Regions from separate parts of the Homo sapiens genome. Here region 2 is linked to region 1. Evidence: promoter capture Hi-C in 16 types of primary human blood cells and fetal thymus (Javierre and others, 2016). All regions are on one chromosome and are shown on one strand. The core of a region is centred on a gene start or on the middle of the fragment in contact, and the rest is flanking DNA. Distances in the headings are between cores, read along the strand shown. Region 1 holds the start of PRRC2C (proline rich coiled-coil 2C). Region 2 overlaps RABGAP1L (RAB GTPase activating protein 1 like).

Region 1 (6,798 bases), core at 2,892-5,391:
AGGATCTCAGCTCACTGCAACCTCGGCCTCCTGGGTTCCAGCAATTCTCCTGCCTCAGCCTCCTGAGTAGCTGGGACTACAGGCGCCCACCACCACACTCGGCTAATTTTTCGTATTTTTAGTAGAGACGGGGTTTCACTGTGTTAGCCAGGATTGTCTCGATCTCCTGACCTCAGGTGATCTGCCCGCCTCGGCCTCCCAAAGTGCTGGGATTACAGGTGTGAGCCTCCATGCTTGGCCCATTTTTTTCTTAGTTTTTGTTTTTTCTGGACCCCCCGCAAAGGTGATTTGTTGAAGAACTATCAACATTTTTCTTATCTTTATTAGCAAATGTACAACATCTGTTGATGTTTATAAACCGGGATTACATTTTCATGCAGTATTTGGGTATTCTGGTTTTCTTTACACCAGGCTTATCATGTTTCATAGTTTTTAACTAAATATGATTTGCTGGATCATTCATAAAAAGAAAACAAAATTGTCAAATGCACCTAAACACTTAAGAAACACAACTGCTGATCCTTTTGTAGTTCATAAGTGTGATGATTCAGTGTTCACATGAATCTATGAGATGCGCCAACCTCAAACCTTGTTATGACGTGGTCCATTACCCATCTGATGTGAAAATTTAAAATTTTTAAACAAAGAAGAGAGAAAAAAGGAACATTACTGCTAATAAAGTATGATACTTTCACTGATCATTTTGTTTTTAACTACTCTACCGTAAAATTTCAGTGCCTACAGGATTATGGAATCAATCACAATGAGAAGGGTAGAAACTCATTAAATCATTAGCAAATAAGGCTGGACAATCACAAAGAAAATACGTCATATTGTTTGGAGAGTGAATTTGTTTTCAGTAAGAAACTAGTTTGCCTGATTCCACACCACCCAATTGGAAATTTGATAATGTTATTCTAAAATTATTGTTTAAATAGAAGTGTTGTAAATTAAATGAAAAGTTTTCATTCAATCTGTCATGAAGACATTTTTGTTATAACAAATTTGTCTACAATGGTGGAGTGTCAGGAGAAGTGCAATCCAAGTCAAGGAGACTTCAGTCACATTTTCCCCAATAAATTGGAAACAAAGGCAGTAAGACTGCTCTCTAAAAGTTAGACTTTAAGATCACATACATAGCTAGGAGCAGAAATAAGCAAAGTCACCTTTAAAACACAAACTGGTTTGATTTAACTGTAACTTGATTTTTATTGAAATAATATTGCAAAGAGGTTTGGGTAGCCATGGAAACAGAGAAAGTAACGTACAGGGGGCACTTTAGGGTCAGTGGCCATCCAAGTGCTGCTAAGGAGACAAGGAGCACAAATCAGCAGCTCAGCAGGATGTCACCACTATATTGGAGATCAATGCGGGCAACTGCAGCCATTGGAAATTGAGAACTTCTATTTTCGGGACAAAATTCTCCTGTTGTGAAGATAGATGACTCAAGAAAAGTCTATACATATAACTCCACTTGTTCAGAATATGTGCTCATCAAGCAACCTTCTGATAATGCCTTGGTTTCCTGAGTAGGTTTGGCTACACAGAAAATGCACTCAGCGGGGCCAGGCACAGTGGCTCACACCTGTAATCCCAGCACGTTGGGAGGCTGAGGCAGGCGAATCACATGCGGTCAGGAGTTTGAGACCAGCCTGGCCAACATGGCGAAACCCCATCTCAACCAAAAATACAAAAATTAGCTGGGCGTGGTGGCGCCTTTGTGTAATCCCAACTACTCGGGAGGCTGAGGCAGGAGAACCGCTCGAACCTGGGAGGTGAAGGTTGCAGTAAGCTGAGATTACGCCACCTGGACAACAGAGTGAGACTCCATGGGGAAAAAAAAAAAGAAAGAAGGAAGGAAGGAAGGAAGAAAAGGCAGGCAGGCAAGGAAGGAAGGAAGGGAGGGAGGGAGGGGAGGGGAAGGGAGGGAGGGAGGGAGGGGAGGGGAGAAGGAGGGAGGGAGGGGAGGGGAGGGGAGGGAAATGAGAAAATGTACTCAAGAAAAGATAGCACCTTGGGTCCATGCTGGCATACCGGAGGCTTTCTGTTTCTGGCAAAAATTAAAAGAAAAAAAGAAAAAAAAAGTATTGGCTTTGCAGTTGTTGAGTGTTCAGGTGTATAAATTAAAGCTCTTAGAAATTAATAATTTAATACATGTCTTTTTTTTTTTTTTTTTTTTTTTGAGACAGAGTCTCGCTCTCTCGCTCTGTTGCCCAGGCTGGAGTGCAGTGGCAGGATCTGTGCTCACTGCAAGCTCCGCCTCCTGGGTTCACGCCATTCTCCTGCTTCAGCCTCCTGAGTAGCTGGGACTACAGGCGCCCGCCACCACGCCCGGCTAATTTTTTTTTGTATTTTTTAGTAGAGACTGGGTTTCACCGTGTTAGCCAGGATGGTCTCGATCTCCTGACCTTGTGATCCGCCCGCCTCGGCCTCCCAAAGTGCTGGGATTACAGGCGTGAGCCACCGCGCCCGGCCATACGTGTCAGTCTTATGACCTTGGTTAATGTAATTTCATCTGATTGCTGAAGTTGTTCTCCATTGCTCAAGACAGATGATTTGGCTGGGCGTGGTGGCTCATGCCGGTAATTCCGGCACTTTGGGAGGCCAATGCGGGAGGCTTGCTTGAGCTCAGGAGTTCGAAACCAGCCCAGTCAACATAGCAAGACCTCGTCTCTACTGGCAAAAAAAAAAAAAAAAAAAAAAAAAAGCCAGGTTTTGTGGCAAGCACCTGTAGTCCCACCTACCTGGGAGGCTGAGACAGGTGGATTGCTTGAGCCTGGGAGGTTGAGGCTTCAGTGACCTGTGATTATGCCACTACACTCCAGCCTGGGCAGCAAAGTGAGACCCTGCCTCCAAAAAAACAAAGAAAGATGTTTCTGTGACCAGGACACTATAGACCAGATCCTAGAAGGTTGTAGAAATTCACTAAAGTAATGCTTCCTTGTCCTCTTGTGGATGATCAGTAGGCTTTCCCCTGGCAATGACCCTATATCAATAAAAAAACTTTTTCTTTTCTTCTTTTCTATTTTTTCGAGAAAGAGTCTCGCTGCAGCCTCAACCTCCTGTGCTCAAGTGATCCTTTTGCCTCCAGCCTCCCAGGTAGCTAGGACTATAAGCATGTGCCACTATGCCTAGCTAGCTTTTTTTCTTTTTAATTTTTTTGCAGAGGTAGGGTCTCACTATGTTGCCCAGATTGGTCTTGAACTCCTGGTCTCAAGCAATCCTTTTGCCTTGACCTACCAAAGTATTAGTATTACAGGCATGAGCCACCAAGCAAGTCCAGACTTTTCTACTTCAAATTAATATTAGTGGGGAGGGAGGTGTTCATAATTTACCTCTCTTTATTATTTCATTTATTCTAACATTGCTACAGTGACAATTCCATGGACATACACCAGCTACTGGCGGGGAAGATCGTTCAGACCAGAAGTGGTAAGAAATCCTTGAATTTTAAATATGTCATAGGTAGTTCACAAAGAGGACAAAAGATACCATTTACTAAACATTCGCCATCTGTTCTGACATAATATTATCATCATTGTAGTCTCCCACTTCCAGATACACTCATCTGCCTATGTTACACTTGCCTAGTAAAAGCCAGCATGGGTGAATCTTACTATTCAACGGAGCTGAACACTGTGATGGAGAGATCATATAAATAAACTGAATGGCTTATCTCACATCCATAATTAGAAACTTAAAAAGTGCTCTCAGCAGCCCATGCTACTCTGTTCCTCACACTAGTTTTACTTTCACTCTCTGTGATAACTTTTCAATACACCAAGACTTCTCAGCTTGCCCCAAATTCACTGAGACATACTGGCGAACTGCTGGTTCAACCATTTACACATCCACCCACCAGACATAAGAGTGCTCATTTCACTGAGGCTTATTATCAACTTGTAAACGTGGTCAATTCAAGACTTCTTAGAAAGGTCTCAGGTCCAAGCTTTGTCCTGAAAAGATAATTCTGATTGCAGAAACTCCCTCCGTCCAGCAGGAAGCGCCAGCACCCTCTGTCGGGGTTGGGCCGCCACGGAGGCTTCACGTGATCCGGCCGTCTCTGCGCAGGAGTGTGGTCTTGCGGAGATTTGACCTACGTACTTAGCGTCATGACGTAGTACGTAGGGGCTGGCTAGCCGCCATCTTGCTTCTTTTTCTCGCTCGCTCGCTCCCCCTCGGAAAGCTGCGAAAGTGCTTTGGCGGTTTGTCCATCCGCAGCTTCGGCTTTTCCAGTCTGGTGGCCCTTCCGGCCACCCCTTTAACCCCAGCTTTCCCTCCCCCTTCTTTCGATCAGAGATCGGCGGAGACCCTCGAAGTGCGCAAACTTGACACTCACCCTGACCGGTAAGGAAAGCGAGGGTGTGGGGGCCGCGATCAAAGAGGGCCCCATCGGGAACGGCCAGAGTGCGGCCTGGGGCGTGGGAGCGCACCCAGACCCTGGCGCCCGGAGGCTAGGGGGCCGCGTGGAGAGGGCCTTGGGTCCGGGCATTTCCCTTCTGTTTGGTTACCATCATCTCTGTGTCTGGGGAAGTCGGCCTCCAGCTTGGGGAGCGGGAAACCGGAGTCAGACCCGCCCCATGTGGTCTGCAGCGGGAGTTCTGGACCGGTCTGTCTTGCTCCCACCTAGACCCCAGTCCTGGCCCTGCGAGGGGATTACGCATGTTGCCGGGTAAGCGAAGGGGGTTTCCGTCTTCCTGGACTGGCGGACGTGAAGTCTTTTTTTTTTTTTTTTTTTTTTAGTGTCGGGTATGCGTTTCCCCAAACAACTGAAGGACTCAGCCGGGGCTTTCACTGTCTACCTCTTCCTGTGTAGTGAGGGTGGGACTTGCAATGAGCAATGTATGGGAGGGTCTGGTTTAAAGACCTGGTTAGATGAGAGGCTCTTCGGGGAATCAAGACCAACCCTACTTCCGCTAGGGAAGTGCTGCCCAACTCCGGAGGAGGATTTGGGTAGTCTTTTCACACTCTAGGCCGCTCCATCCTCTAACTTGCGTGGTGAATCTCGGTAGCTCCCTGTCTTTGAGATAGCGTTGATATTGGTGGTGTCAGGGTAAAGGCCCCGTTTTAGGACTGAAGAAAAGGGCATGGGGCCACTATAGAGACATTGATAGAGTCTTCCTTCCTTTGCATGAGAGGAGTACCTTTAATTTAAAGGGATGTATGTGTGTTTTGACATTATTTGGGATCTTTTGAGGGTCTGACATGCCTGATGTTTGCTGGCTTATAAAGCTACCTGGATTTCCGCATTGGCTGGTTTTCAGCCTGGGTTCATAGATTCATACCTCGTTAGAGTACTTAGAATTGTACAGTAGGCGGCTCTGCTGTAAGATTTTCATTTGGAATGCACCAGAAGAATCGGAGGATTTTTTGATTGTTGAGTACTTAATAGCTTACTCCTGCAAATAAAAATAATAGGGTGATACTAAGCACCTACCAAGCCTAACCCCACCATTTTTCAAAACTAGATTTCACCTCCCATATTGGTAATTAAGATGCTGCTTTGACTGGAGCCATTTTTAGGTGTGTGTCACAGATGCACTGCAGCATCTTTTCTGGCTCACCCCAAATGCATTGATCCCCTAAAAAATTAGGAATAAATTGAACTTGAATTTTGTCTTTAGCATGTAGTCAAATAGTAATTCTCTCCTTTTCTGTAAGTGGATTTTCAGAATATAGCCTTTTTAAGTGATTGTGTTTGCTCTGCTTAGCTTATGTGTGGCTGTTCTCCATTAGGTGACCTTTTGCTATACACTGAGCACAGTAATAAGTCCTTTTCATACATTTTTTTTTTAATCTCCACAACAGACCTTTGAGAAAAGTGCTATTAAGATCATCCCCATTTTACAGATGAGGAAATGAAATCTGAGAGAGTAGTCTGACCAAGGTCACATAGCAGTTATTGGTGGTATTGTGTAGGTTCAATTCCATACTGTCTGAACCCAAAGGGGATGCTCTAAACCTTCAACCTGCTTTTTAAATTATAAACTACAGTAACTAAATAAGATAAAGCATTATTAACTAGTAGTTTTTCTTTAGCTTGACTAGTATATGAATATTGTTGCATGCTAAGGTTAAAGTTTTGAAAGTTGTAAAAATGGAATATATCCACTTTGGACTTGGGGTAGAGGCTAATTTTTTTGTGTCCTTTTCTATTTGAGTGCTTAGAGATAACTTAAAACTAACTCTACCATGTCGTAGATATAATTTTTAAATTTAGGCGTCTGATCTATATTATTGGTAGAATATTCCCTCATCTGTAAAATGGTGATGATAATAGGACTTCCCTCAGAGGCTTTTATAGGAGTAAAAAAAGATAATGGATAATGTATGTAAAGGGCTTATTACTATGCTTAGTGCATAGTAAAAGGTCAACTAATAGTGGAGGGAGAATGGTAGGATATTGGTAGAAGAAAATACTCTCTTCCAAGCAATAAATAATCTGTAAATTCTCAGGGTGATGTATATATTTCTTTAGGTACATAAGAAAATTTCACCTCCCCTTATCCCTGATATGTCTACTTATATGCAGGATTTTGCTTCTTAGCGATTTCTTTATGCTCTACAGTAAATATCCCTGGGATGAGTATCTTGTTCATAGCTGAAAATGCAGAAGTTCTGGCTCATTCCAGCCCCCTCTCTTCTTCTTACCCCCACCCCACCCTCTTTAGTGATAAAATGTCTTTGAAGATTATATTATATCCCTGTCTGCCTCCAAGTGCCACCCCTAAACACTACTTCAGTTTGTTAGTTAGGTAACTTGTGTTTTGGATGCTATTTATGTCATATTTGTAAATG
Region 2 (6,798 bases), core at 1,537-4,036, 3.5 Mb after region 1:
GAGTACTGAGAAGGTGACCCCTAGGGATTTGGCCTGGAATGGCAAGAGCTCAGACATGTCAGAGGAAGAAATTTTTTTTTTTTTGAGACGGAGTCTTGCTCTGTCGCCAGGCTGGAGTGCAGTGGCGCGATCTCGGCACACTGCAAGCTCCGCCTCCCGGGTTCACGCCATTCTTCTGCCTCAGCCGCCTGAGTAGCTGGGACTATAGGTGCCCGCCACCATGCCCAGCTAATTTTTGTATTTTTACTAGAGACGGGGTTTCACCATGTTGGCCAGGATGGTCTCGCTCTCTTGACCTCGTGATCCACCCACCTTAGCCTCCCAAAGTTGTGGTATTACAGGCATGAGCCACTGCACCTGGCCCAAGAGGAAGAAATTAATGGTCAGCTGGACATGGGATGAAAGAGGAGCTAATGAAAAGATGATCCAAAGTCGTCAGGCCCAAATGGTGGAGACATGCCCAGTGGCACAAAAGTGTGGTGGAGAGTTGCTTTTTGTGTGTGTGAAGAGAGGAGGATGGGCACGGTGATGGACACATTGAGCTTGTAGCAGTAGGGCATCAAAGTAGAAATAGCATGTAATATCTTTTATCTCTATTGAATTATTTTTGAAAATAAGTAAACAACAGTACTATTGTCTGGAAAACAGTTGCTGTTGTTTAGTGCTGTGTGCCCGATTGGCAATGCGGGCATGTGGTAGAGTTATTTTATTTTATTTTTATTTTTTGAGATGGAGTCTCATTCTCTCGCCCAGGCTGGAGTGCAGTGGCGCGATCTCGGCTCACTGCAAGCTCCGCCTCCCGGGTTCAAGCGATTCTCCTGCCTCAGCCTCCCGAGTAGCTGGGACTATAGGCGTGTGCCACCATGCCTGGCTAATTTTTTGTATTTTTAGTAGAGACGAGGTTTCACCGTGTTAGCCAGGCTGGTCTCAATCTCCTGACCTTGTGATCTGCCTGCCTTGGACTCCCAAAGTGCTGGGATTACAGGCGTGAGCCACCAGGCCCGGCCGGAGTTACTTTTATTAAGCAACAGGGGTCCTCTTTGCTTAAAATTCAACAACAGGACATGTGCTTTGTTGCAAGGGTAGATTTAGGTTAGTCATGATGACCTTCCTCAGTCTACTACAGGCAAGTTCTTTAAACTCTGAGTTTCTTTATGAAATGAGGATGATGATAGTGCTTACTTATACAGTTGCTCTAGGATTAAGTGAAATACTACAAGTAAAGCATTTGGTGTGGGGCTTGGCATCTAGTAAGAATAATGATAGCATAAAATTTCTAGAACAGATTTCAAAGAGATGCTACAATACCTTCTATTTCTAGGGTATTTCTAGAGATACTTCAGGAAAAAGGAGCACCCGTCTTGGATAGTTGGGTTCGGGCTAATGATTTTGATTGCAGCACAAGAAAAATAATTAACCTTCAGAAATGGGCCTGCATCTATGACAATAAGCAGCATCTAAAAAAGTCATAAATTGTTTCAGAAGGTGATTTAGCCTATGGAATAGTTTGATGTTGGTTATCTCTTTTGGATACTTTAGGGTAAGATGATGGCATGCAAACACTGCAGTGACATTTTCAGCAAGGAGGGTGCTTTGAAACTAGCAGCCACAGGCAGAGAGGACCAGGGAATTGAAACAGATGATGAGAAGGACTCACTTAAGAAGCAGCTGAGAGAGATGGAACTGGAACTGGCACAAACCAAACTGCAGTTGGTGGAGGCCAAGTGTAAAATTCAGGTTGGTGATTTGATAAAAGAACAAGAAGAAAGAATAAACAATTAATGGTCCAGGATACTCTAGTACTTCAGAATACACCTATCTAGGTCAGAATTGTATGATGAATACATTTTCTGTCTGCTAATGTGTCCTGCATAATCACATTTTATATCATGTATTCTTAACGCTGATATAAACAAATATATAATTTTAAATGAAATTTTAATAATTAAAATTATATCTTATGGGAATTTAATTAAGCATATGCTTGTTTTTTTTACCCTGAGATTTTTTGCTTACATCCTTTCTCACAGAATGTGGTCACTTCAGTGGCTGATCCTGAAAATGAAAAACCAAACCCCCTCTGCTGTGTCTACCCTGAGAGTCACACATTGGCTGACACCCGTTCTTTCCTTTAGAGCTTCTTTTTATCTTTAGCTCATTTTGTCAAACCTCTTTCCCCATTATCTTTCTCCATATTGGCGCATAATATAATTAGAAATAGTCCTGGCTTCTGATGGACTCTTCTTCATTTCATTTTCCCAGTGATCCCTACCAGCACCATGGCTGCCATGTCACCAGCCTCCACCACACCAGCCAGCTTCCACCATGTGTCTGCTCTGACCTTGGACATTCTTAGGGCAAAGCCTATTTCTTTGGAACTGGAATTCATTCATGCTTCTACTATCAGTAAAAATTCATCCATATGTTTACATTTATTTGTGGTTTTTAAACCTGTTATATCGGATTGCAACCTAAACCTAAATTTGGACCTAACTTGCAGGGAAAAAAAGAATAAAATGAGCTTTTCTTTCACTGTTTAAAGAAAGCACAGATTCTAGATTTTTGATAAGTCTTTTAGCTCTTAACTTTATCCTTGTACTAAGAAGCCAATTCAATCTCTCCTGGGTTTTGTGGGAGGAAAATTGGCAGCACATACCTTGAGACTCCAAAAAGCTGCACACTTTTATTTATTTATTGGCAAAGAGAAAACATTTATTTAACTCAGATGATTTTCTTGCTTTAATTAGGAACTTGAACATCAGAGAGGAGCCCTTATGAATGAAATCCAAGCTGCGAAAAACTCTTGGTTTAGCAAAACCCTGAACTCTATCAAAACGGCCACGGGCACCCAGCCATTGCAGCCAGCACCGGTCACCCAGCCACCCAAGGAGAGCACATAGTTCCAGCCTTACCCAAGCACAAGAGCACAATGTTCAAACCAATGGAAATCTGGGAGGATTCTTCCTGGTGTCCCTTTGAAGGAAAGTCAAGGAGGCCAGAAAACAAGCCAGAATTTTTCAGTAGCTCTCACTCTTTCTTGTATGACACTTTTCAAAGGGATGCTATTTAAACTGACCTGTTCTATGTTGAATACCTATTTTCCAGCTTCTGGAAGGCCATGTTCAGATCCATCATAGTATTACACATTATTTTGTTTGCCTGATGTTTAGTTGGAAATAAGTAATTCAGAACTAAATGCTTTTTTATTTAGAATTATTCATAATTATTTTTATCTTACATAAAAATGGAGACATCTGTTATTCCAAGGTTGAAGTGATAAGAAGATCTTTGTCACAGGAAAAAAAAAATTGAAACCTAAACATCTTAAGTTTTCAGGATTTATTCAGATAAAGCACACTGTGGGGCCAGGCATGACCACTCTCAGGTTTCCTCCTGAGCCTGATTCCCAGGGAAGTGTTAATCCTGTCCAAAGGAAAGAACCAATCAGCGATCATTGGTTTACTTTCATTTTCTGTTCGGTACATCTGGAAATGAAGTGCCAGGAATAGACGGGCTGTTCAGATTATACGCTAGGTAAAAGGAACTGAAATTTTAATAAGTGTAGGTCAGGATCATTTGGGCTGTGGTATTCTAACAGATCCTTTTAAGAATGCCACATAGGACTTGTGAGTTCCTAAGTACACCAAAGTATGGACACAGATGTGACTTCTGGCAATTATAAAGTTAAAGGTGGATATTGCACCTTACAGACTTAGGGAGCCTTTACCAGAGACGCCTAAAAAGCCCCAGGTTCAGCCATTGTGCTGAATAGAGTGGAATATAGAACCAGGGACAGAGTATTTCATTTAACGTTGATATATACTTGCTAAGGAAACACTAACAATACTGTAACTTTGTTAAAGGACATAGTATTGAAATGGGAAATAGAGGTCAGGCTCACATCATCTTAGTTTAATGCTGGGCAACTTTTTCTGATTTCTGTAGTTCCCTGAAAATGTGTCCTTCGTACCCATAAAGAGATACAAATGCATTTGTAACATTTTTGATTGAATATAAAACCTTTACAGAAATACTTATCTCATGGAAAGGTAAAGCTATTGTTTAAAAATTAGTGGAAATATTTTTTCAATTATATTTAACATGCCTATAAAAATAGTCCTTGCAGGAAATTATTTGATAAGAGCAAAACTATTTTTATTTTATAAACTATTTTGGAGGCCTCTGATCCTTTCAAACCAACCAAACTACTATTAGATATGTACAATAACATTTGTTGATATTAATCATTGGCCTCATTGTTGAACATATTATTTGCAAAGAATCTTAAACTCTGTAGTGCCAGAATGATTCTCATCTGTGCCATATTTTGCAATTAAAAGTAACACACCCTTAGAAGAATCAAATAAGAGCCATCTACATCCCAGGAGGATGCACCAAGTTGCTCACAGTGGATCTTTTCCTCTAAAATGATCTTTTATGTTCTAAAAAGTGAAATCCCCTTTATCTGTGTTTATATTCTCTACAGCCCATAAAACTGATGTGATTGTTATGTTATACTCATCAGATAATACTTTTCTTACATAAATCTTTCATTGTTGTTCTGACATCTTTCATTACAAAATTTATTTTCTTAACAAAAAGGAACATAACCCAGCATTCCAAGTGTCTGTGTTGGCTTTAACATTCTCTACATGGTGGTCTAGATAAGCTAATTTTTTTTTTTTTTTTTTTGTAAAATGTAATAGCTAGAAAATGTTATCTTGGCGCTTGTTTTTGTAAATCATTTAGTATAGGCTGTTAGCTTTACTGGTACTTTACGCTTTGATTCCAAGAAGCCTTGTGCAGTTGCCTTATCAAATGGCCAGCTAAATTAAAGATGCTCTTTTGTGTTGTGAATTTCATAGTTCTGTACAGAGCTTGTTTCAATTTACAAAAATAAGTACATTCCACAGAATGCCTAAAGTGTGTAATTTTCTTTAAATAATAGTAGGTGAGGGAGAAACATAATGGCTCTAGGTCAATCCCTTATCTAAAGACCTTGTTCAACTTCATAGTCCCTTTCCTTTTAAAGAGGAGAAGAGAAAAATCCCCCCTGGCCAGGCATGGTGGCTCACATCTGTAATCCCAGCACTTTGGGAGGCTGAGGTGGGTGGATCACCTAAGGTCAGGAGTTTGAGACCAGCCTGGCCAACATGGTGAAACCCTATCTCTACTGCAAAATACAAAAATTAGCCGGGCTTGGTGGCGGGTGCCTGTAATCCCAGCTACTCGGGAGGTTGAGGCAGGAGAATCACTTGAACCCAGGAGGCAGAGGTTGCAGTGGGCCAAGATTACGGCATTACATTCCATCCAGCCTGGGCGACAAGAGCAAAATTCCGTCTCGAAAAATCACCAGGTACATACCTCTCAAGTTTGATAAGTCCATCTTTTGAGTTTTCTTTTAGCTCTTTCAAAAGATTACGAGGGCAATACATATTTTTTTTTTTTTTATTCTCCAGCCCCATATCATACTTGGGTATGCCTGTTGGTACCATAAGCCTAAACTCTCCTTCACTGCAATGCCTTTGAGTCAGTAGCAATAGTAAAGACTAGAAACAAAGAAAATTCAGAATTTGGTATGTGATATGATTGTTCATACAATATGTTATAATAGCAATATTCCAAACAATATGTCCTTCACTGTCTATTGTTGGAAAACTCATGCATCCCAGCATGAAGTAACTCCTAGTTTTAATTTTAGTTATTTTGAGATATATTTGAGAATTGCATCTCTTCTCTTGAATTTCACTTAGAAGAGATTAACCAGCCAAATATCCAGGAAAGTTTCAAAACATTCTAGTGTTTTTCATCCTTTGCTAGGATGCACTCTGTACAAAACATTCCTCTGAAAATCTAATATTTGCAGTATCTAAGAATTGATCATTTCTATTTTCATTAAATTCTGTGGAAAAAATTAAATGAATGAAATTCAACTTCATAATTCAGTTCATCAGCTTTTGTATCTTGAGAATCTAAACACGTCTTTAAATCTGAAAGAAACCAAGCTGGATTTTGCAGTGCATATGTTTGCTAGCTTCCCACATCCTGAACCATGTCAAAATTTGGTTTTATTTAGTTACATATAATTTAATGCAAAGAAATTCTGTTACTTAATGTTCTGTTTATTTATGAGTGCCTATCAGGAACACTAATAGGAATGCCATTCAACCAGTGTCTTCTGCCCCTCTCCCAGCTGTTAAATTAGTACTTCTTCATTGGCTTTCTGAAATGTCCTGAGTAAAGTAGAAAAGCAACCTTTGTATGGATGTGGGGATATTTAATAGTATGTATCTTGTTTCATTTTTTTCCTATGATGTATTAATATTTATTTTTCTCCAACCCCTGCTCCATTTTCTTAAAATATTTTCCAGTTAATAACTAGTTGCTTTATTTCCTAGCTGAAGTGAGAAAACCAACGGAAAACAATACAGATTTGGGCAGAGGAGATAGAGTTACATCTTTAAAGGAGTGAGCCAGTCACCCAGGAGAATCACATGTGTAACTGATGTAGGGGTTTAAGTCTTCATACTTTCACTAAAATCTGTCTACTAACTCTCCCACCAACCTTTGCATCAAACACTTAGGTACCTGCCTGATTAGGGGGGCCCCTTTAAGGGAAAAAACTTTTAAAAAATTAAATGCCTTGGTTTTGTTTTATCTTCTGGGAAAGAACACTTTTACTTGATTAGCAAGATGATTATATTATATAACTTGCCCTTAAAAACACTCCAAAATACTGACTCCTTTTCTCCAATTACAAATGAGTGTGAAGAAATTCTGTTGTATGATTTGAACACT

The links. Contacts are between HindIII fragments. The CHiCAGO score rates a contact against its expected background, and 5 or more counts as called.
Region 2: a contact is called between a fragment that was not itself captured here and the fragment with the promoter of PRRC2C in region 1, in 1 of 17 cell types (total CD4 T cells). The highest score is 5.3, in total CD4 T cells.

What each region holds. Positions count from the first base shown.
Region 1 is chr1:171,481,389-171,488,186 of GRCh38, forward strand. PRRC2C (proline rich coiled-coil 2C) reads left to right here and starts at 4,142. Exons shown (of 35, transcript NM_001387844.1): 1 at 4,142-4,347. LOC124904828 (small nucleolar RNA U13) reads left to right here and starts at 519; the gene lies at 519-621. RefSeq lists enhancers at 3,731-4,040, 3,947-4,695. The HindIII fragment of the contact is 3,004 bases long and covers 3,948-6,798 here.
Region 2 is chr1:174,987,102-174,993,899 of GRCh38, forward strand. It overlaps RABGAP1L (RAB GTPase activating protein 1 like), which reads left to right. Exons shown (of 26, transcript NM_001366446.1): 25 at 1,540-1,737; 26 at 2,748-6,798. The coding sequence ends at 2,900. Among named protein-coding and RNA genes, the nearest start is that of CACYBP, 9.4 kb to the right of the region's middle. The HindIII fragment of the contact is 8,943 bases long and covers 1-6,798 here.